7 separate regions of the Homo sapiens genome follow, and all the other regions are linked to region 1. The links are contacts of gene promoters, found by promoter capture Hi-C in blood cells and fetal thymus (Javierre and others, 2016). All regions are on one chromosome and are shown on one strand. The core of a region is centred on a gene start or on the middle of the fragment in contact, and the rest is flanking DNA. Distances in the headings are between cores, read along the strand shown.

Evidence for each region. The method cuts DNA at HindIII sites, captures the fragments that hold promoters and counts their contacts. A CHiCAGO score of 5 or more calls a contact.
Region 2: a contact is called between a fragment that was not itself captured here and the fragment with the promoter of DUSP4 in region 1, in 2 of 17 cell types (M2 macrophages and M1 macrophages). The highest score is 6.3, in M2 macrophages.
Region 3: a fragment that was not itself captured here is called in contact with the fragment with the promoter of DUSP4 in region 1 in 16 of 17 cell types (endothelial precursors, M2 macrophages, M0 macrophages and 13 more); the score reaches 30.4 in endothelial precursors.
Region 4: a contact is called between a fragment that was not itself captured here and the fragment with the promoter of DUSP4 in region 1, in 9 of 17 cell types (M2 macrophages, M1 macrophages, M0 macrophages and 6 more). The highest score is 7.0, in M2 macrophages.
Region 5: a fragment that was not itself captured here is called in contact with the fragment with the promoter of DUSP4 in region 1 in 14 of 17 cell types (M2 macrophages, M1 macrophages, M0 macrophages and 11 more); the score reaches 14.0 in M2 macrophages.
Region 6: a contact is called between a fragment that was not itself captured here and the fragment with the promoter of DUSP4 in region 1, in 2 of 17 cell types (M1 macrophages and M0 macrophages). The highest score is 5.5, in M1 macrophages.
Region 7: a contact is called between a fragment that was not itself captured here and the fragment with the promoter of DUSP4 in region 1, in 10 of 17 cell types (M1 macrophages, endothelial precursors, M0 macrophages and 7 more). The highest score is 10.3, in M1 macrophages.

The regions. Positions count from the first base shown.
Region 1 is chr8:29,349,222-29,352,060 of GRCh38, forward strand. DUSP4 (dual specificity phosphatase 4) reads right to left here and starts at 1,463. Exons shown (of 4, transcript NM_001394.7): 1 at 625-1,463. The coding sequence starts at 1,057. LOC124901924 (a long non-coding RNA gene) reads left to right here and starts at 1,753. Exons shown (of 2, transcript XR_007060876.1): 1 at 1,753-2,313. RefSeq lists enhancers at 461-962, 491-640, 963-1,462, 2,161-2,230, 2,271-2,380 and silencers at 1,321-1,640, 1,831-1,970. The HindIII fragment of the contact is 21,736 bases long and covers 1-2,839 here.
Region 2 is chr8:29,909,334-29,912,373 of GRCh38, forward strand. No RefSeq gene overlaps it. Among named protein-coding and RNA genes, the nearest start is that of LINC02209, 11 kb to the right of the region's middle. The HindIII fragment of the contact is 1,315 bases long and covers 1,099-2,413 here.
Region 3 is chr8:30,009,418-30,012,594 of GRCh38, forward strand. No RefSeq gene overlaps it. Among named protein-coding and RNA genes, the nearest start is that of MIR3148, 54 kb to the left of the region's middle. The HindIII fragment of the contact is 991 bases long and covers 1,031-2,021 here.
Region 4 is chr8:29,963,475-29,966,443 of GRCh38, forward strand. No RefSeq gene overlaps it. Among named protein-coding and RNA genes, the nearest start is that of MIR3148, 7.6 kb to the left of the region's middle. The HindIII fragment of the contact is 2,291 bases long and covers 523-2,813 here.
Region 5 is chr8:30,034,841-30,037,612 of GRCh38, forward strand. No RefSeq gene overlaps it. Among named protein-coding and RNA genes, the nearest start is that of SARAF, 47 kb to the right of the region's middle. The HindIII fragment of the contact is 1,249 bases long and covers 771-2,019 here.
Region 6 is chr8:29,935,751-29,938,703 of GRCh38, forward strand. All of the region lies in intron 2 of LINC02209 (long intergenic non-protein coding RNA 2209), which reads left to right. Among named protein-coding and RNA genes, the nearest start is that of LINC02209, 16 kb to the left of the region's middle. The HindIII fragment of the contact is 902 bases long and covers 820-1,721 here.
Region 7 is chr8:29,981,643-29,984,803 of GRCh38, forward strand. No RefSeq gene overlaps it. Among named protein-coding and RNA genes, the nearest start is that of MIR3148, 26 kb to the left of the region's middle. The HindIII fragment of the contact is 2,721 bases long and covers 28-2,748 here.

The sequences.
Region 1 (2,839 bases), core at 213-2,712:
AGAGCCTGGATCTAGCCCGGGACGGGGATTGGCCACCTTCCAAGCTGAGCTTGGAGTTGGGCAGCGGGAACGCAGATACAGATCGCTCTACACAGTGTGTGCAACCCAATCTCCCTTTCTGCATTTGCCAGGGTCTTGTTTTCAGTGAAACTGGCAAGGCCAATTGTACCTCGGCGCCCACCCCTCTTCACCTTTTCTCCACCTCTGGGATTCTCCCGGTCCGGCTCAGTGTAGGGCCCCAGCACGCCAAACCAACAGGCCTATCTTGTCCCCACGCGCCCCGTGGTACTTGGAAACTGTTCCCGGGACTCAAGATGGACCGCGCAGAGGAGTCGCTTCATCCTCGAGGCTAGGACCGTTAATGTCAATAAACGGGGCCTCGCTAGGACGGTGCGGAATTGCAGGTGACCGGAGAAACCCGTCCGCACTTTCCCTGAGGACTTGAACCTCGCACTTGCACAGAAACCTTGCAAACCCCTACACACCAACACACACAAAGGGGCGCGCGGGGATCCCCGCAACCACGAATCACGCCGGGGACTCCTTCCCGTGCCAATAAGGCGCAGGCCGCCAAGACCCCCTCCATCTCCCCGACTCCAGCTAGCGCCCGGAGCCCTCGTTTACCTTTGAGCAGGCAGATGTCGGTGCGCTCGGCGTTGCGGCGCAGCGCCTGCACCACCAGCGACACGGTGCTGTCCTCGCGGAGGCTCTCGGCGCGCGGGCTGCGCTCGTCGTAGACGATGACCGCCGAGTAGAGGCCGGAGCGCAAGCGGGCGCGTACCTCCTCCTCGGCGGGCAGGATCTGCTCCAGGCTCACGGAGCCCTTAGCCCGCCGCCGCACGATGGTGTTACAGCGCACGTTGACCGAACCTAGGATGTAGCCCGCGCTGTGCGCCAGGAACGGTCTGCAGTCCAGCAGCAGGCACTTGCCGCCGCTCGGCAGCCCCAGGGTGCCGTGGCTGCCGCTGCCGCCCGCGCCGCCGCCATTCTCGTCCCGGTTCATCAGCCTTTTGAGCACACTGCAGTCCATCTCCCGCAGCTCCTCCATCGTCACCATGGTCGCCGGGAACCGAGGCGGCTGGGCGCGCGAGGAAGAGAAGAGAACCCGGGCCGCCTAGGCTGCAGAAAGGGGCGGGCGAGAGCTAAGAAGGGACGCCTGCAGAAGTGGCCGCAAACTTGGTCCTCAAGGGCTCCCGCGGGAGAGCCTCTTCTTCCCTGTCCCCTTCCTCCCGCAGCCTCGCGGTCACATAGCAGTCGGAGCGGCCTCGGGCGCCCAGCCGGGCGGCGCGCAGAGCGGAGGGGGAGGCGCCGGTGGAGGAGAGTGTGTTTACGAGAGAGGACCGCGGACTCTTTTCGGCGACGGCCTCCCGTGTATTTTTGCCGGTCGCGCGGCTCCTGTCGCCACTGGCGCCAGCGCTGCCCTGCCTACGCTCCTCCGGCGCTCAGCGCACTGCCCCAGCCAGAGTTTTCTCCTCGGCTTAGAGGTTTATTAATGCTCCTCCGCGCTCCCGGGGGAGGGGGCGCTAGGTACTACCCCGCCAGGCCCCGCCCCGTTCCATTCCGGGCCCCGCGCCGTCCCCCGCCCCCCGCGCTGTCCCCCGCCCCCCGCGCTGACTCCCCGCCCCCTCCGGGCCCCTCCTCCCACCCCCTCCCCGGAGCTTGAATGGAGCGCGGCCGCTGGCTCCCGGTCACGGGAACTCGACGTCACAAAGAGCGGAGTAAACAGGGCGCCGGGTGCTCGCCATCAGGCCCATTCATAAAACCGAGGCCGAGAGGAAGAGGGAGGCGGCCTCCGACCCGCCGCCAGCGGCGGGCAGCGCCCGGACTTTGTGAATGGAGCGCGCGGCGCCTTTCGCCGTCTACCCGCGGGCCCAGCCTGCGCCGCGCCTCCAGCCCGACACCGGCACCTGTGCCGCCGCTGCACCCCGCCGCTAGGCGGGCGGCGCCAAAGGAAATAGCCGGCTGAGGAGGCCAGGGCTCGGGTTTGAGCTTTCATCCCTTGGCACCTTCGCGCTTCCCCGCGTGACAGCCCCGTAGGTTTTTCCCGGTTACCCAAGTGGAGAGGGGACCGGAGCGCTGCTGCCCACCCAGCGGGGCCTGACACCTCCTAGCCCCAGACTCCCCGTGCGCTTTCGGCCCGGCCAGTCCTTTCTGAATATGCGATTCCTGAGACGTTAGCGTATGCATTAGCGTGATCGATTTTCATCTAAAGCCATTAAATCAGTTTTATAGCTTCCCCAAGAACGTGGGCAACCCCCTGCTTGGAAGATGAAAGAGAAAGTCCTCCCGCCCGAAGCCCAGGATCGGAGTGAGGTGTGGGGTTTGTTGCTTTACTACCCAAAGGGAGGCATTAATTGCCGGAATGGTGTTCCGAGGGAGGAGAGCAGGCTGCGCTCCTGTCCACGCTTCCTAAAAGATGTTTATTTAACCCTGGTCGGGGGAAAAACAAGGTTTTCGGGTTTGGGAAACGTCTTCACCCTATCTTGCATAGTTGTGAATTATCCTTTCAGGAAATGACAGGGTCCACATTTGTTGCGGAGCTGGACCCTGGAAAATGTACCCGCAAAGAATGACCTTTTGAAAGGACTTCAGCAGCTCTGGGTCCGATTCATGTTTCTGGGCATCCCTTTTTCCTGGTCACGTAGCAGCCCTCCCCATCCCCATTTCTCTTTTGCATTTAATTTCCCAGAGGCGGCTTTTGGCTGGGGGTTTGTGCACGCACGCGGTGGGGACCGTGCAGAAGCCAAAAATCATTCGCCCGACATCTTGCCAAGTCTTGTTAGTGAGAATTAATCACAGAGCAAGGGAGTTACAGGACTCGCTCGCAGTTTCGGAGGCT
Region 2 (3,040 bases), core at 506-3,005, 560 kb after region 1:
TCCATGACATTAACCCAGAGAGGATTTACTTTGCTATTTGTTTTACATGTTTTGTTCAGGTAGCCCTTATTATTTTTCTCCCTGTTACAAGTCTCAGCAAGGTGAAGTAGAGAGAGATATCCAAATGGCTCACTATTAACAGGTAGCATGTGCCTCTTCCATGGAGAGGAACCAGAAGATACTGACATTTCGAAGAGATCATCTAGGGTTCACCAGAGAAGAGACAAGAAGCACCAGAAGTAAGTAAGGAGAGGGTTTGAGACAGCTTTCCCAACTGGGGACTGATTGAGAGTCAGGAGAGGCTCCTGGATTCAGGGAAACAGTAAAAGAGAAACTCCCAGGTCTTGGCTTTTACAATCTTGGCTATGGAGAAAACCCTTGACCCACTAAGCCCTTGTGTTTGACATATAGAGCTGCCTAACAATTGCACAGAGATGTTGCTCCATAAAGGGAACCCACATGGAATCTCACAGTCATCCACACAGCCTCACCTTGGTGCCATTTTGAGACCTAGATACCAGAGATCTACAGACATGGCTGCTGCCATTGCATTGCTCCAAGGAGAGACAGGGGAGACCAGGCACTTCCATGCACCCCTGGAAGGGTCCCTACTGCCCTGCTGCAGGCTGCTGTTGAGACTGAGACGTGAGTGGATTGCACTCCCCACAGCTTCTTGCCCATGCTGCTTGCTTGAAGGGAGCTTGCCCTTTCTGGTCTCAGCCCCAAGGCACCATTTTGAGAGTTTAACACTGGGCTGTGCCCTAATCTCAGGCTGAATTCAGGCTGAATCACTGCAGCTGCCAACTAGCCAAGAATGAACAGGGAACAAGGCTATCCTATGCATGCATACCTAGGACAATACTCACCATCCTGCTACACACTGCTGTGAGATTAAGACTAAGTGGACCACACTCCCCACAGCTTCTTTTCTATGCTGGTTACCTGAGGGAGGGCTGAGGGCCCCACCCTCTCTGGTCACAAGCCCAGAACTGGCATAATTTTGAGGGTTTAACTGTGGGTTGTGACGCACTTTCAGGCTGAGTTCAAGGAGATGTGGCTGCAGCCAACACCCAGCCAGGGGAAGGACAGAGAAGGCCAAGCTTTCCTAAACACACTTAGCACAATACACACCACCCTACTATGAGTGGCTGTGGAACCAGGAACTAGCCCACCCAACCCATCACAGCTGGTAGGAACACCAACATGGACTACTTGAGTACCAGTGGGTTGCTCCACCACCACTACTGCCATCACCCACACTGTACCAGATGCCCAGGGGCCTGAGAATTCACCCACACACATGAAACACCACTCCCACTACTAGCTTCTAAGCAAGCCACATAGAGGCCCAAGGATTAGCCCTTCAAGACCCACTAACAACAAAGCCAGTTTATGCTGCTCTGGAGCTTAAAACAGGAACATTCACTCCACTGCTGTAACTACTGGGGCCTAAAGACTGGTTCAGTTAGCATCTAAGTTTCCAACGAAACTTCGCCACAACCTAAGCTGATAACTATATCCTAAGCCACCAAGGAAATAACAGATATCACTCATCCTATGCACTGCCAAAGAAGTAAGTTTTAAAAATCACACTATTGTAGGTACCCAAAATCAAAGCCAAAATATCCTACTCAACCAACAGCACACATACATCTTTAGGAGAAATTCTCCCCTACAAAAGCAACTTCAAAAAACTGGAACAAGGAACTGCTACATTAGATGTGCAGATACCAATGAAAGGACACAGAAAACATGAAAAAGCAGGGAAATCTGATACCACCAAAGGATCACAACAGCTTTTCAGCAACAAATTCCAATAAAAAATAATTCCTCAAAAATCCAGATAAAGAATTTAAAATATTGATTATTAAGAAGCTAAGTGAGATGCAATAGAAATCTGAAAATCAATACAAAGAAACCAGAAAACCAATTCAGGATATAATGAGAAATTTACCAAGAAGATATCTTTAAAAAAAATTTTTGGAACTAAAAAATCCAGTGAAGAAAATACAAAATACATTCAAAAATCTCAATAACAGACTAGACCAAGCAGAAGAAAGAATCTTAGAACTTAAAGACAGTTTTTTTTATATCAACCAGTCGGACAAAAATAAGGAAAAAAAAATAAAAGAAGCAACAAAGCCTTTGAGATGTCTGGGACTACCTAAGCCAACCAAACTTAAAAATTATTGGTATTCCCAAGGGGGAAGATAAAACAAAAAGTTTAGAAAACCCATTTAAGAGAATAATCAATGAAAACTTCCCAAGTCTAGCAAAAGAGTCAGACATTCAGATCTAGGAGCCCCAGCAATTCCAGACAGATACATTGCAAAAAGGACTTCAGCACTACATATTATACTCGGACTATCTAAAGTCAACATGAAAGAAAGATTTTAAAATTAGCCAAGAGAAAAGCTTCTAGTAATCTATAAAGTAAACCCCATCACATTGGCAGCAGACCTTTTCAGCAGAAATCTTACAGAACAGAAGAGAATGAGATGGCATTTTCAAAATGCTGGAAGAAAAAAAAACTGTCAGCCAAGAATTTTATATCCTATCAAGATAAGTTTCACCAATGAAGAAGAAATAAACTATTTCCCAGATAAACAAATGCTGAGGGAATTTTTTACTACTAGACCAGCCCTACAGGAAATGTTCAAAGGTGTCTTAAGCATGGAAACAAAAGGTTGATATTCACCATCACAAAAACATATAGAAATATAAAACTCACAGTTTTTATAAAGCAATCACACAAGGGAGGAAGAGAAAGGAATCAAATGGCAACACAACAGAACTTCGGTTATGGGAGAAATCATAGCAAACAGTCTCTCAGACCACAGTGCAATCAAATTAGAACTCAGGATTAAGAAACTCACTCAAAACCACACAATAACATAGAAATGAACAACCTGCTCCTGAATGACTCTTGGGTAAATACGGAAATTAAGGCAGAAATCAAGAAGTTCTTTGTAACCAATGAGAACAAAGAGACAATGTACCAGAATCTCTGGGACACAGATAAAGCAATGTTAAGAGTGAA
Region 3 (3,177 bases), core at 276-2,775, 660 kb after region 1:
TCTGTCTCTTACTCACTCCATCCAGCTGGGCTTTTCTCCCTCACCAAGAAATTAATGCAACTTCTAGCGTTCTCTCTCTTTCTCTCTCTCTTTCTCTCTCTCACTCTCTCTGCCATGTGCAGAAAGAAGATGTAACTTCGTAAAGTTGCACCATTTAAGCAAAAACCTGCATCCAGGAGCCATGTGGCTAATTTTTCCCAAGGGCTGAGGTTCCTTGGAGCCTCAGCATTGTCCTGCATCCCTCACCTCCCCACATCACCCTCCCTGTAGGAACCAAGACAGTCATTAGGGATCCCAATGACTTGTATTTGTCATTTTCATCCCTGCCTTCCTCCGTGCCATTCTCAGAGCCCAGCTATTCCTTATGGACCCTTTATCCAGTGCCAAACTACCCAAACTTCCAGGGAGAGGAAGGATCCCAGAGACCAAATGCTTTCCAGGAAAAGAGGGGAAAGAGGCAAATGCATCCAGAGAATCAAACCTGACCTCTCTCTGCCCTCACCACATCCTCCTCCCTAGGATGGTGATATGGTTTTGCTGTGTCCCCACCCAAATCTCATCTTGAATTGTAGCTCCCATAATCCCATGTGTTGTGGGAGGAACCCTGTGGGAGATAATTGAATCATGGGGGCAGTTTCTCCCACACTGTTATCGTGGTAATGAACAAGTCTCACGAGATCTGATGGTTTTATAAGTGGAAACCCCTTTTGCTTGGTTCCCATTCTCTCTTGCCACCACCATGTAAGACGTGCCTTTCCCCTTCCACCATGAGTGTGAGGCCTCCCCAGCCATATGAAACTGTAAGTCCACTAAATATCTTTTTCTTTATGAATTACCCAGTCTCAGGTATGTCTTTATCAGCAGCGTGAAAACACACTAATAAAGATGGGCAGCTACTGCCCAAATCCCTGAGCTGTGTCAAGCTGTGGGGTTACAAATCCACAGAACACCCTGTAAACCTCAGAGGTGTATAGCACCAATATGTGCTGACACTACAGAAAAAGAAGTGGCTGGTGTGCTGCCTTCCAAAAGCTTACAATCAAGTTAGGAAAGGCAAGGGTGGCACACATTTAAACAATAAAGAAATAAATAGCATCATGGCATATAACAGTGGAAATTATGTGGCATAGGCTCTGAATCAGTTTTTTTTTTTAGCATGCATAAGAGCACCTGAAAAACGTATTTAAAGCACAGATTCCTGAGCCTCACTCCCAGATATTTTTATTTAGTACCTGTGGAGTAGGTTTGTGATCTTTTTAAGAAAAATCCGGTCGGGCATGATGGCTCACGCCTGTAATCCCACCACTTTGGCAGGCCAAGGCAGGTGGATCACTTGAGGTCAGGGGTTCAAGACCAGCCTGGCCAACATGGTGAAACTCTGTCTCTACTAAAAATACAAAAATTAGCCAGGCATGGTGGTACGTGCCTGTAATCCCAGCTACTTGGGAAGCTGAGGCAGGAGAATCGCTTGAACCCAGGAGGTGGAGGTTGCAGTGACCCAAGATCGTGCCACTGCACTCCAGCCTGGGCAACAGAGCTATAGACTCCACCTCAAAAAAAAAAGAAAAAGAAAAAGAAAAAGAAAAAGAAAAATCCCAGGTGATTTTGATGGTAGGATGCCAAGAAAATAGCACAAAGATATAGCACAATAGTTACCATGGATTACAGGAGCTTTCATTGCAACAACCAAATCACAACTAAAACTACTTAAAACTATCTGTTTTCTATGCTAGCCAGTTCCATTACTGCACCAGGCACCACACTTAGCAAAAACAATTGCTCTATGTTGCCCAAAGTATTTTTCCATAACTGAAAGACACCTGAAAAAGGAAGAAAAGATGAATTGTCTTAGTGAGACTCATATGAATTTTTCAGTTGCTACAAGAGGTAATTAATTAGAGGGCACTTTTGGTGTCTTGTCATCTTGATCAATCTGGCTTAGCCTCCAGGGCTATCAACCTCAGAGCTGGAAACACTTATTCCCCAGGCCAAATATGCTGCCCCCACCTAGATCCCAGCAAAGCTTAGTGACCTCTCCTAAACCACAGCCAGCTACACATGAGCTCTTGCCATCCCACCTGCAAGGAAAGAGCCATGCAATTTAAAGATGGAAGAGATTGTGGTCATCATTTTACATTTTACGAACCTCTTCATTTTACAAGTAAAGAAATAGAGACCCAGAGACCCAAAGGCACAGGGCTAATGCCATCTCTCCTGGAAGTCAGATAGGAAGAGTCCTCACACCCCCTGCAGCCAAAATACAGTCATCCACACTTACCCTTTTAGGAAGAGGGTGACAGATGGGAGAGTAGTGTTTTTCCTTGCCACCTAGCCTTGTCTGTTTCCAAATCACTTATCAATTCACTCAGCAGCCTTGTCAGAGAAATATCTTGAGCCCTGCGGGGGGCCCAAGAAGAGGGAATAGGGCTAAGTGACTTCCAATGAGTGGGAGTGACTTCCCAATAGGACAGAGGATGTCAGGCAGGAAACGCACGTTCATGGGGTCACTGTCTCCCTGCACAAAGCCCAGAGCTGAAGGGAAGAGGGAAGGCAGCAGACCAAAGCAAGGAAGCAGGTCAGGCTTCGAGTTCAAGGTTTCTTTTCTATAGATTCTAGGGGAAGAGGAGCTCACCAAAAAGAGAGAGAAAGAAAAGGAGAGGGGGGTGGAAGAAAATGCCCCATGTACACCTAAAAGGTCTGGCAGGGCACAGTTTGCCTAAATACCCCAAGATGCTTCTCAGCAGCCCAGCGACATGCACAGTAGGTCTGGACTGTCAGGGGCAGGCAGGTCAGGACTGGGAGGTGAGGCTGGCCTCCAGGTTGCAGTGCCAGAGGTGTGGCCAGGCCAGGACGGGGAGGCTCTTCCGGCTGATGCCCACCCCCACTCTGCAGCTGCTCTCCCTCTCCACTCTGCCCTGCTTCACTCCCACCTTTTTCCTGGTTTGGGTTCAAACCCTAGCAACTAGCTCCAACAGATAACAACACCTGCCCACTCAGCAAACTGGCGTGCAGTCAAGAGACCGCCACACAATTGACTCTTCTGACACAGCACCTTTTGTTGCAGCCAAGATGTTTGAGAGGGAGAGAGTGAGGACACAGCTCAGTGGACCGGCTCCTGGCAACATGGCCTGGTCGGAAGCTCACATTTGCATTCTCGTCCTCAGGCCCCCACTCCCG
Region 4 (2,969 bases), core at 418-2,917, 610 kb after region 1:
AGATATGCAGTCTAAGACTGGTATGAAGGTCTGGCTGACCAAAGCCCTCAGGGACTTAACTCCTTCCATTCTCAATCTTGTTCTGGAATGTGGCCTCACTGTCACAGCCCTAAGAAGTTTCCAATTCTAGGCAGCGGGATGAAAGAAGGAATAAAAGGCATATACAAACGGTCTCTTAGAGAAATTGTCATAAGCTACTGCCTACTACACTCTAAATCCCACTGGCCAGACTTAGTGATATGGCCACACTTAACTGTAAGGGATAATGGAAAATATCATCTTTAAGCTAGACAGTCATATAACCAGCTAAAAATACCTATTGGTATTGACGAATGGAAAAAATATTAAGGGACAACTAACGGTTTCAACCACAGTTTACCTGAAAATAGAGACCATATCTACTGCGTGGAATTTACTTGGGAAGGGGTCAGAATTAAATGGGAACATACATATAAAGCACCTTGCATAACGCTGCATGAATGAGAATCTCATTCCTTCTTCTCCTCTGTATGCACAAAAATAAGCTTATCCACATTTACCTCTTGTCTACCTTGCATCTTCAGACCTAGATACAATTCATTAACCTTTCCAAGCAGAAAAATTAATATGCCATAATTTCTTCCTATTTTGACTTGCAGATATCAGCAACCAAACACAAAATACTGCTCACTATCTTTCTCAGCCTTGCATAACTGTTAACATTGTATATTTCAAAGCTGCCCCAATGGCATAATAGCAATGAAATTCTGGGTTTACACTGTCTCTGGAATGTGAGCTCCACAAGACCATGGCCTTGCCTGATTCATTCACAGGAAAGTTATAGAAGAATACCTGGCACATAATTGGGCACATTCAATATTGGTTGAAGGAACTGATACTGGGATTATCAAATATATGGGAGAAAATAAGAATTTTCAATATTAAAAAGAAAAGGAGGAAGCCAGCAAGATACATCACTATTGCAAAGCACGTTGGAGCCTTAAATGACAATATTGTGGATCAGATGTTTAGAGAAAACTCTCCCAATACAGTACACTGATAAAAGCTGGATACATTCCAAAATGAAAACTTTTAAACACATGAATGAGCTACCAAGAAAGTAAAGGTATTCTCTGAAGGCCAGAAAAGATAAGAAAGCTCAAATTGAAAGAAATAACTAGTGTTCAAGCTGGAAATTTATTTTGGGGGTCTAAGAAGATAAAGCCTGGGGCCTTAACTGGATGTGAGGTTAAATTGAAGATATTCACTTTTTAAAGCAGCGATCCCAAGAGGGTAAACATCCTTTTCTAAGTGGATGACCTAGGGGGAAAAATACCCCACAGAGGGAGTTAGTAGGATACATTATTATCGCATCTTGGCTCTTGGTGAAGCTAAAAAAGAGAAAGAAAGAAAAAATTCTACCCTAAGAATTCCTAACCACAAATGTACATTTAAGGGATTTAGAATAAGAACTCAAACCACCTCTATAACGAAAAAGAAACCTCAAGCCAAAAATGGAATTTAAAGTGTCCCAGGTGGATAAATGCCCCCAGGCACCTAGAAAAACCAAATGAGCATCCTACCTGAAAAATATATATTTTTAAACCAGGCCTCAAATAAGTCTCACAGACAAAGCTCACAATCAAAAATCACTGAAGACTACAGGAAAGAAACTGCCATGAGGAAGAGGAGGCAGAAACAACAAACCACAGAATCAGAATGGCAAAGACAGTAGATGTTGGAATTACCAAAGATCGACTACAAAATAAGAATGAATAATATTGTTTTTAAAAATATAAATTAAAAGACTGATAGAGAATCAGGGACTATGGAAGGTGACCAAGCAGATATACTAAGAAACCAAATAGAAATTCTAAAAATGAAAATAAAATAACTGAAATTAGAAACTTCATGAAAAGTTTAACAGTAGATTAGACCCAGCTAAAGAGAGAATTAGTGAACTAGAAGAACAGATATACAGATATCTCAGAGTTCTCTTAAAGCCAGCCCTGAGAGACAAGGATTTGAGTGTAAGTAGTTAATTTGGGAGGGGAAAGAAACACCAGTGAAGAAGTGAGTAAAAGGCACAGAGAAGGCAAAGTAGCCAATTAAGGTGATACTGAGCTTTTTACCACTGTGGGAAACTGGAGCTTCATCATGCTGGAGGCACTCCAGAAGCCCATCTAGAACACATACCTCAAGGCTGTCCCACTTGAGCTGCTGTGTTCATTCACCCATCGGTCACTGGTTGAGGGCTGTTCCTGCTAAGCCGTTAATTGCCAGGCACTTCTGACCTTCACAGGAGTGGCAAAGTGGGCTCTGAAAACCAGAGCAATGAAATTCAGATGTTGGCAGTTAAAAGCTAGGCAGACATACTGATGTGGTAAAGACAGAGGGATACATACAGACGGACCACTGACTCCATCCGTTATAGTGGTTTTGAAGAAATTACCCAGAACGCAGCATAGGGAGACAAAGAATTGGAAAATATAAAAGAAATATTAAGATTCATAGAAGATAGAGAATGTGCATATTATATAATCTTGCAATTCCACCCCAGGTATATTACCTAGAGAAACTCCAACACATGGACACTAGGAAGTATGTGTAAGACTTTGCATAGCAGCACAGTTCATAAAAACAAGAAATTTTAAAATATGTCTATCAAGTGTAGGATGGATAAATTGGGGTATATTTTTACAATAGAATTCTACAAAGCAGTAAAAATGAAGAACTGTTCACACACATCAGTAGGAATAAATCCCTCATAGACAGTACTGAACCAAAAAAGCAAGTCACAGAAGAATATGTACAGTATAATTTCATTTATATAAAGCTTAAGAACAGGCAAAATAAATAATATATTGTTTAGGACTTAATTAAAATAACAAATTATTATATAGTATTTATGCCAGATGCTAGTCTGAACACTGTACATATTTAATTAATTGCACTCATTTAATCCTTATAACAACTCTGTGAGATAAGTA
Region 5 (2,772 bases), core at 145-2,644, 690 kb after region 1:
GAACCTTTACCCTTACTATCTGCCTAAAAATTATTTCTTAATAACTCCTGTATCATCACCTCCTGGGTTCAAGTGATTCTCCTGCCTCAGTCTCCCAAGTAGCTGGGATTACAGGTGGCCACCACCATGCCCGGCTAATTTTTGTATTTTTAGTAGAGATGGAGTTTCAACCATGTTGGCCAAACTGGTCTCAAACTCCTGACCTCAGGTGATCCTCCTGCCTCAGCCTCCCAAAGTGCTCACAGGCATGAGCCACTGCACCCCGCCCCAATCTGTGTTTCTATTATCAAAGTCTCATCCTTTGAATGTGTCTTCCTCTAACAACTTCAAAATAGGATCCCTGTTCTGAAGTAAGTATTACATTGAGCCTTACAAAACTACCAATCTAATAATTTTTTATCTACAAACATGGCGATTGTCAGGCCTCTGAGCCCAAGGTAAGCCATCATATCCCCTGTGACCTGCACGTACACATCCTGATGGCCAGTTCCTGCCTTAACTGATGACATTCCACCACACAAGAAGTGAAAATGGCCTGTTCCTGCCTTAACTGATGACATTGTCTTGTGAAATTCCTTCTCCTGGCTCATCCTGGCTCAAAAGCTCCCCTACTGAGCACCTTGTGACCCCCACTTCTGCCCACCAGAGAACAACCCCCCTTTGACTGTAATTTTCCTTTATCTACCCAAATCCTACAAAACGGCTCCACCCTTATCTCCCTTCGATGACTCTCTTTTCGGACTCAGCCCACCTGCACCCAGGTGATTAAAAGCTTTATTTCTCACACAAAGCCTGTTTGGTGGTCTCTTCACACGGACGCGCATGAAAGCGATTTTGTGGTTCAACTTAATATACTGGCCCTCAGAGTCTTTTGGAAAGGGATTGAGTTTTTTTAAGCATACAAATAAAGAATAATAATAATAAATGTAATAACTAACATTATTGAAGCATTCATTTAACCCTCACAACATTTAACACTCTCATTTCACAGATGTGAAAACTGAGCATAAAGAAGTTGAGTAAGGCCGGGCACAGTGGCTCATGCCTGTAATCCCAGAGGCCAAGGTGAGAGGATCGCTTGAGGCCAGGAGTTCAAGACCAGCCTGGGCAACATAGTGAGATGTTTCTATAAAAACTTTTTTTTATTATTTGTTTTTACTTTTTAAAAATTAGTGCACACATGTAGTACCATCTGCTTGGGAGACTGAATAGGAGATCACTTGAGCCTGGGAGATTGAGGCTGCAATGAGCCAAGAATGCACTACTGCACTCCAGCCTCAGTGACAGAGCAAGACCCTGTCTCCAAAAAAAAAAAAGGTTGAGTACTCTTCTCAAGGTCACAGACTGGCAAAGGCTAGATTCAACACAGGCTTGTCTGATACACAGCCATTAACCACTGTGCTGTATTTTCCGAAAAGTTTTTGTTGATAATGAAGGGACTCCCTCTGACCCCATATACTTTTCTAGGCATTGAAACTTTTACTTCTTCCACTGAGATCCCATAAGGGATAAAGTTGCACATGGGCACTAAGGGTGAGTCTACTGTAGGCAAAACAGGTATTGTGTGGGTGCACACATGTGCACATGCAGCATGCTCCTGTGGAAGTGTGTGCCATGTATGGAAATTAGGCTATGATCGTATGGTATGGACAACGACCTTTGATAGATTAGAATACTGAAGATTTCTAATTTTATGAACAGGACAGACTCAATGTCTTGAAAACTCTCCCACCATTAACACAGAGGAATGCCAGATGTAACATCCATTTGAATGCATAGCAACCAGCTGCGGTGGCTCATGCCACCCCATCTCTACTAAAACTACAAAAATTAGCCAGGCATGGTGGTACATGCCTGTAATCCCAGCTAATCAGGAGGCTGAGGCAAGAGAATTGCTTGAACCTGGGAGGCAGAGGTTGCGGTGAGCCGAGATTGCACCACTGCACTCCAGCCTGGGTGACAGAGTGAGACTCTGTGGAAAAAAAAAAAAAAAAGTAAAAACATTTGAATGCATAGTTAAGCTTACAAGAAAGTAGGAGAAATCCCCAGAGCTCAGCAATGAAGATTTGGTTTCTGAAAACCAGAGCATTATGTGAGTGAGCTGATGTGGCAACTAACCTGGATTGGTCGGGTTTATCTCCAACTTACGAAACGTTAGGAATTTGGTTTTAACATGTACACAATGATAAAGTGAAAGATCTTGAGACTGCCAAGTAGGAAGCTGAAGTAAGACCCACCCATCCTCCCTCCCCTGACTCCACATACAGCACAGGAAGAGTGGACTAGAAAAATATCTCTCTACCAGCATAACGAAATGACGTAGAAGTTTGTCTCTTCTGGCCTACCTAGACTCTGAATAGAAAAAGAAAAAAAAAGAAAAAAAATTAGTTTCCTCATCGGAAAGTCAATTATGGGTCAATGCCATGTGAGGACCCAGGAACCCCCAAGCCAAAAAATTAACACATAAATAGATCCTAGGATGGCTACATCACTGGAGCACCTGGCAGAAGAAAACCACACAGGAGGGACACACTCACCACCATTCTTACAAATAGAGCCCTGCTGAAGATGAACTCATAACATACAATCACACAACTCAGTACTTAATAATCCATCGTGAGCAAGAGCCAGCAGAAGTAACAAGCATGTAATAAAGTTCATTAGACTCTCAGAGCTTCAGGTTCCTGAATAATCAAATGAAGATGATAAAACAATTAAAGACATAAAGGAGAAAAGTAAACATAGAAGACAGTATAGAAAGGAAAAAAAAAC
Region 6 (2,953 bases), core at 21-2,520, 590 kb after region 1:
GGTCCATTCTCCCTTGTACATCTTGTAATTTATTCTTCATTTCTGAGACAATTTTGTCTTTTTCTACCATTTCTTTCCTGAGTTTAAGGAACTCTTTTTTTTCTCCCTGTTTTTTGTTCCATTTCTGCTCTTAATTTTTGAATTCCAGATCCTCAAATGCTTGCTTCACCTTCATGCACCAAATAATGGCATCTCAGTCAACAATGGACCACATAGAGGACAGTGGTTCCATAAGATTTTAATGGAGCTGAAAAATTCCTATCACCTAGTGATGTCGTAGCCATTGCAATGTCATAGCACAATGCATTCCATGTTTGTGGCAATGTGGGTATAAACAAACTTACTGTGTTGCCAGTCATATAAAAGTCTTGCACATACAATTATGTGCAATAAATAATGCTCGATCATGATACTAAATGACTGTTACTGGTTTATGTATTTACTGTACTGTACTTTCATCACGTTAAAGTGTACTCCTACTTATTTTTTTTTAAGTTAACTGTAAAACAGCCTCAGGCAGGTCCTTCAGGAGGTATTCCATAAGAAGGCATTGTTATCACAGGAGATGACAGTTCCATGCATGTTTCTGTCCCTGAAGACCTCCCAGTGGGACAAGATGTGAAAGACAGTGATACTGATGATCCTGACTCTGTGTAGGCCTAGGCTCATGTGTGTGTTTGTGTCTTCATTTTTAAGAAAAAAGTTTTAAAAATAAAAATAGAAAAAAGCTTATAGAACAAGGATATAAAGACAGAAAATATTTTTGTACAGCTATGCAATATGTGTTTTAAGCTAAGTGTTATTACAAAAGAATCAAAAAGCTTTTAAAAATTAAACATTTATAAAGTAAAAAAAGTTATAGTAAGTTAAAGTTACTTTTGTGATTGAAGAAACATTGTTTCATAAAGTTAGCTTAGTCTAAAGGGGCAGTAATGTCCTAGGCCTTCACATTACTCACCACTCACTCACTGACCCACCCAAACAACATCCTGTCCTGCAAACTCCATTCATAGGGAGTGCCCCACACAGGTACCCCATTTTTATGCTGCATTCTTACTGTACCTTTTCTATATTTAGTTATGTTTAGATACAGAAATATTTCCCATTATGTTCCAATTACCTACAGTATTGAGTCCAGTAACCTGCTATACAGGTTTGTAGCCAAGGAGCAATAGGCTAGACCACACAGCCCAGGTGGGTAGTAAGTATACCATCTGGACTTGCATAAATAAACTCTATGATGGTCACACAACACAATGACAAAATCGCCCAATGACGCATTTCTCAGAACTTATCCCCATCGTGAAGCGAAGCATGACTGTATATTTAATTCATTTTGGAACGTAGACCTACAATTTTCTTCTGCTTCATGGTTGTTTTTCAGGAAGGGACTTTTTCTCAGTTGATTTGCATGCAAATGCATTCCCTCATTTTCTGAACTATTTCTCTAAAAACTTTCCTTTTATTCATTTCTATGATACTGCAGTATTTTAGAAGATTTCTCATTTAATTTCTTTTCTGTCTGGAAAAGTCCAGGTACTTCAGTGGGGTTTCATCTGTTTGTTTGTTTTGGTGGCATGGGCAGGTTAGGAGGCTGCCAGTTTTTAGTTCTCTTTTGTCTTGTAGGACAATAAAATTCCTCTTTTTTCTTTTCCTCTTCACCACCCAAGTTCCAAAGCATGCTTCTTCCTTCCTTCTCTTTTGCCTTTTTCTCTCCCAGAAGCTTTTCTCCCCAAAAGACCATCCTTTTAAATCAGATTTTCCCATTTAAAGAATGTCTATCCCTTTAAACAGTATGTCTAGTCCAAAGAAGAAATACAAATGGCCAACAAACATATGGAAAAATGTTCAACATCATTAATCATCAAGAAAATGCAAATTAAAACCACAATGAAATACCATCTTACCCTAGCCAGAATGGTTATTATTAAAAACTCAAAAAGCAAGAGGGCTGAATACGTCGGATCCCTTCTCTGCTGTCACGCTCTGAATATTTTCAGATTTCAGGTGGATTTCATCCTGCTGGGGGTCGCTCCACACTCAGGCCGCTTCACTGGCGTCCACTCTGCATGTTCCCCTGAGCTTGTTTCATCTGCCTTTGCCTGCTTCCAAACCCCACCATGTGAGGCAGGAGCATGTGGGACAATGGCTCTGGTGTTTGTTGACTTTTCTCTTTTTACTCACAGTTATTGTACAGTTTCTGCATTCGTTGACATTAATGTGGAGAGATGGTTGTCAGAATATTTTCTTTTTCTTTTTCTTTTTTTTGTTTTTTGTTTTTTGTTTTTTGTTTTTTTTTATGGAGACTTGCTCTGTCACCCAGGCTGGAGTGCAGTGGTGCAATCTCTGCAACTTCTGCCTCCTGGGTCCAAGGAATTCTCCTGCCTCAGCCTCCTGGGTAGCTGGGACTATAGGCGTACGCCACCATACCTGGCTAATTTTTGTATTTTCAGAGAAACGGGGTTTTGCCATGTTGGCCAAGCTGGTCTCGAACTTCTGGCCTCAAGCAATCTACCCACCTTGGCCTCCCAGAGTGCTGGGATTACAGGTGTGAGTCACCATGCCAGGCCAGTTGTAGCATTTTCACAGATGTAAAGTTATCTCATTTGGGAAGGGGACTAGGTGAATAATTTACTACACTCTACAATTTGTCTATAGCACCCTGAATCCCCACTTTTTTTTTGAGATGGAGTCTCACTCTGTCCCTGAGTCCCCACTTTCAAAGGGCTCATTAAAGTATAATATCCATACAAAAAGTGTACATATCACAAGTGCAGATCCCAATTAATGTTCACAAACTGCACGCACCTTTGTGTCCAGCCCAACGGCCAGGGAAAAGAGCTTTCTAGCACCATGGAACCCTCCTGTGTTCCCTCTCAGTTGCCACCCCTGCCCCTCACCAAGGGTAACCACAGCATGGATTCATTGTGCCCTTGTTTGTACATTATAGAGA
Region 7 (3,161 bases), core at 138-2,637, 630 kb after region 1:
TTGTGGAAAAAGTCACTCTTTCATTGAAGCTTCATATTGTGAACCCTTTGCAACTGCATTAAGCCTTCATAGGTTTGCATCGTTATCCATTGCTCCTAATTAGTGTCTGATGACCCAAGAAGAAAAGACTTTATATCTTCCTGTTTGTTTCATGCACCAACCTATCTACAAATGCACCCGATTTTTGGCTCTTCCCCACCTGTATTTATTCTCTTCACCATAGCTGACACAGGCAATGAGAAGGTAAAGATTTGTACTTTTGTGGGTCATTTTGTCCAAGGAATTCAAAGCAATGACAGTAGGCTAGGAAGAACCCAGGAATTCAATTCAGAAGACATCATTTCAAAGCCCAGTGCTCCCACTTACTTGCCAGGGCCAAATCGGGCAGGTTGTATTCCTTCTATGAGTCTCAGATCCTTTTTGTTAATATCTGCCTCTCAATGCCGTTTCATGACTAAATAAAATTATATGTGTTAGTATGATAGTGTAGTGTTTGGCATATAGCGGGCACCCCTTAAATGTTAGTTATTAAATGTGGACTCAGCATTTTCCAATGGGTCATTTTCTTGCCTGGCGCTATCCAGGCTGCCTCCTGATGCTTGCAAAGTCCTACAGTCTTCAGAGAAGATCTGTAACCCCATGAGTCTCTAGAAGTGACTCCTGAGAGAACACTATTCATGGTGTGTTTATTAAAGAACCAGCTGAGTGCAGTGGTGCCTGCCTGTAATCCCAGCTACTAGACAGGCTGAGGCAGGGGGATCACCTGAGCCCAGGAGTTTGAGACCAGCCATGGCCACATAGCAAGTCCCTGTCTCAAAAAGAGAGAGGGAGAGGGAGAAGGAGAGGGAGAGGGAGAGGGAGAGGGAGAGAGAGAGAGAGAGAGAGAATTGCTAAATATAGTTTTGTAATATGATTGCTTTTTGTTGCTTGGATAAGTTAATCACATGTATGACTTCTGAAACATTGATACAATGTCTACTTTCTCATGAATTTTAATGAAATGGTTTGAGGTTGAGTTTTGTTTATTGTTGTTGTTTTGTTTTATGTTTTTTGTTTTGAGATGGAATATCGCTCTGTCCCCCAGGCTGGAGTGCAGTGGCGCGATCTCAGCTCACTGCAAGTTGCGCCTCACGGGTTCACACCATTCTCCTGCCTCAGCCTCCCAAGTAGCTGGGACTACAGGCGCCTGCCACCAAGCCTGGCTAATTTTTTGTATTTTTAGTAGAGACGGGGTTTCACCGTGTTAGCCAGGATGGTCTCCATCTCCTGACCTCGTGATCTGCCCGCGTCAGCCTCCCAAAGTGCTGGGATTACAGGCGTGAGCCACCGCACCAACCTGTTTGTTTTTGAGACAGGGTCTCGCTCTGTCACCCAGGATGGAGTACAGTGGTGTGATCATGACTCACTGCAGCCTCAACCTCCTTGACTCAAGAGATCCTCCCACCTCAGCCTCCCAAGTAGCTGGGACTACAGGCAGGTGCCACCACACCCAACTAATTTTTGTATTTTTTGTAGAGACAGGGTTTCACCATGTTGCCCAGGCTGGTCTGGAACTCCTGGGCTCAAGAGATTCCCCCATCTCGGGCTCCCAAAGTGCTAGAATTACAGACATGAGCCACCATGCCCATCTGAGATTTTTTTTAAACATTATTAGTGGGGGGATAGAAGTAAGGTGAGAGTGTTGCTTTGATTTTTACTTTGCACACTGGTGAGTTGAAGACCCATGTTCTTTGTAGACCACAGATGTTCACACCCCTTAGGTGTGGAAATGAATTAGTCCAGGTATCTATGGCACAGTTTCTCTTCTGAAAAGTTTATCCAAGAACTAAATACTATTTTTTAAAAAATGCTACAACAGAGGGAGCAGAGAAGAAAAAAGAGGACAAGGGGGAGAAAAGGAAAGAAGGAGAAAGAGAGGGATTTACTGAACTTAGAGTATTTGTTTCCAGGACACTCAGTCAGATGGTTAATATCAAATGTCAACTTGATTGGATTGAAGGATGCAAAGTATTGTTCCTGGGTGTGTCTGTGAGGATGCTGCCAAATGAGATTAACATTTGAGTCTGTGGGCTTCGAGAGGCAGACCCACCCTCAATCTGGTTGGGCACCATCTAATCAGCTGCCAGCACTGCTAGAATAAAGCAGGCAGGAGAAGATGGAAGAGCAGACTTACTGAGTCTTCTGGCCCTCATCTTCCTCTTGTATCGGATGCTTCCTGCCCTCGAACATCAGACTCTCAGCTCTTCAGCTTTGGACTCTTAGACTTACACCAGTGGTTTGCCAAGGGCTCTCAGGCCTTTGGTCACAGACTGAAGGCTGCACTGTTGGTTTCCCTACTTTTGAGGTTTTGGGACTCAGACAGTTCCACCACTGGCTTCCTTGTTATTCAACTTGCAGACGGCCTGTTGTGGGACTTTACCTTGTGATTGTCTGAGTCAATTCTCCTTAATAAACTCCCATCATATATACATATATCCTATTAGTTCTGTCCCTCTAGAGAACGCTGACTAATACACTTGGCCTGGGCAAGTGGGGTTTACCCTGATGTTAGGTCTGAGTGGACTCCGAACCTGGACTTGCCCTCTGCCCAGGTCCTTGGCTCATTTCTTAAGAAGCACTCAAACTTCTTTTCATCTTGGAGTCCTGGTTCTAACTCTCTGTGCTAACAGCCAGGTGTGCAAATGGAAGGAGTGTCGCTGGTCCGGTTGGTGCCAATGTTGACCTCTCTTCTCGCATAATCCCAACTGAAGCTTCCACTTGTTTTTCTGCTATCTCTCTTGGTGATGATGGCTGCCAGCTGTCTAGGGGTCTTTCTCAACCTGTCTTCCACCCAATGTCCTGTACCCCACCCTACCATTCCCAAGAGCACACAAATGGCATCTTACTGCAACAGTACCTTGAATCATCATGTATAGATCTGAACCAAGTTGATTAAGAAACATTGAACTTGTAGAGTGAAAAGTGGTCAAACCTGGGAAGAAACTCCTTCCTTTGCCAGTAAACTATGAGGCAGATCCTTTTATTTCTGAGGCTCAGCAGCCTTGTCTGCCCTTCTTCCCGTATGGGGAATATGTGATCATGCTTGAATGTAAAGGAGATTCCCTAAATTGTGGCTTGTGGCAGTGAGATGAGAATACAAGATATTCATACTAACCACTAAC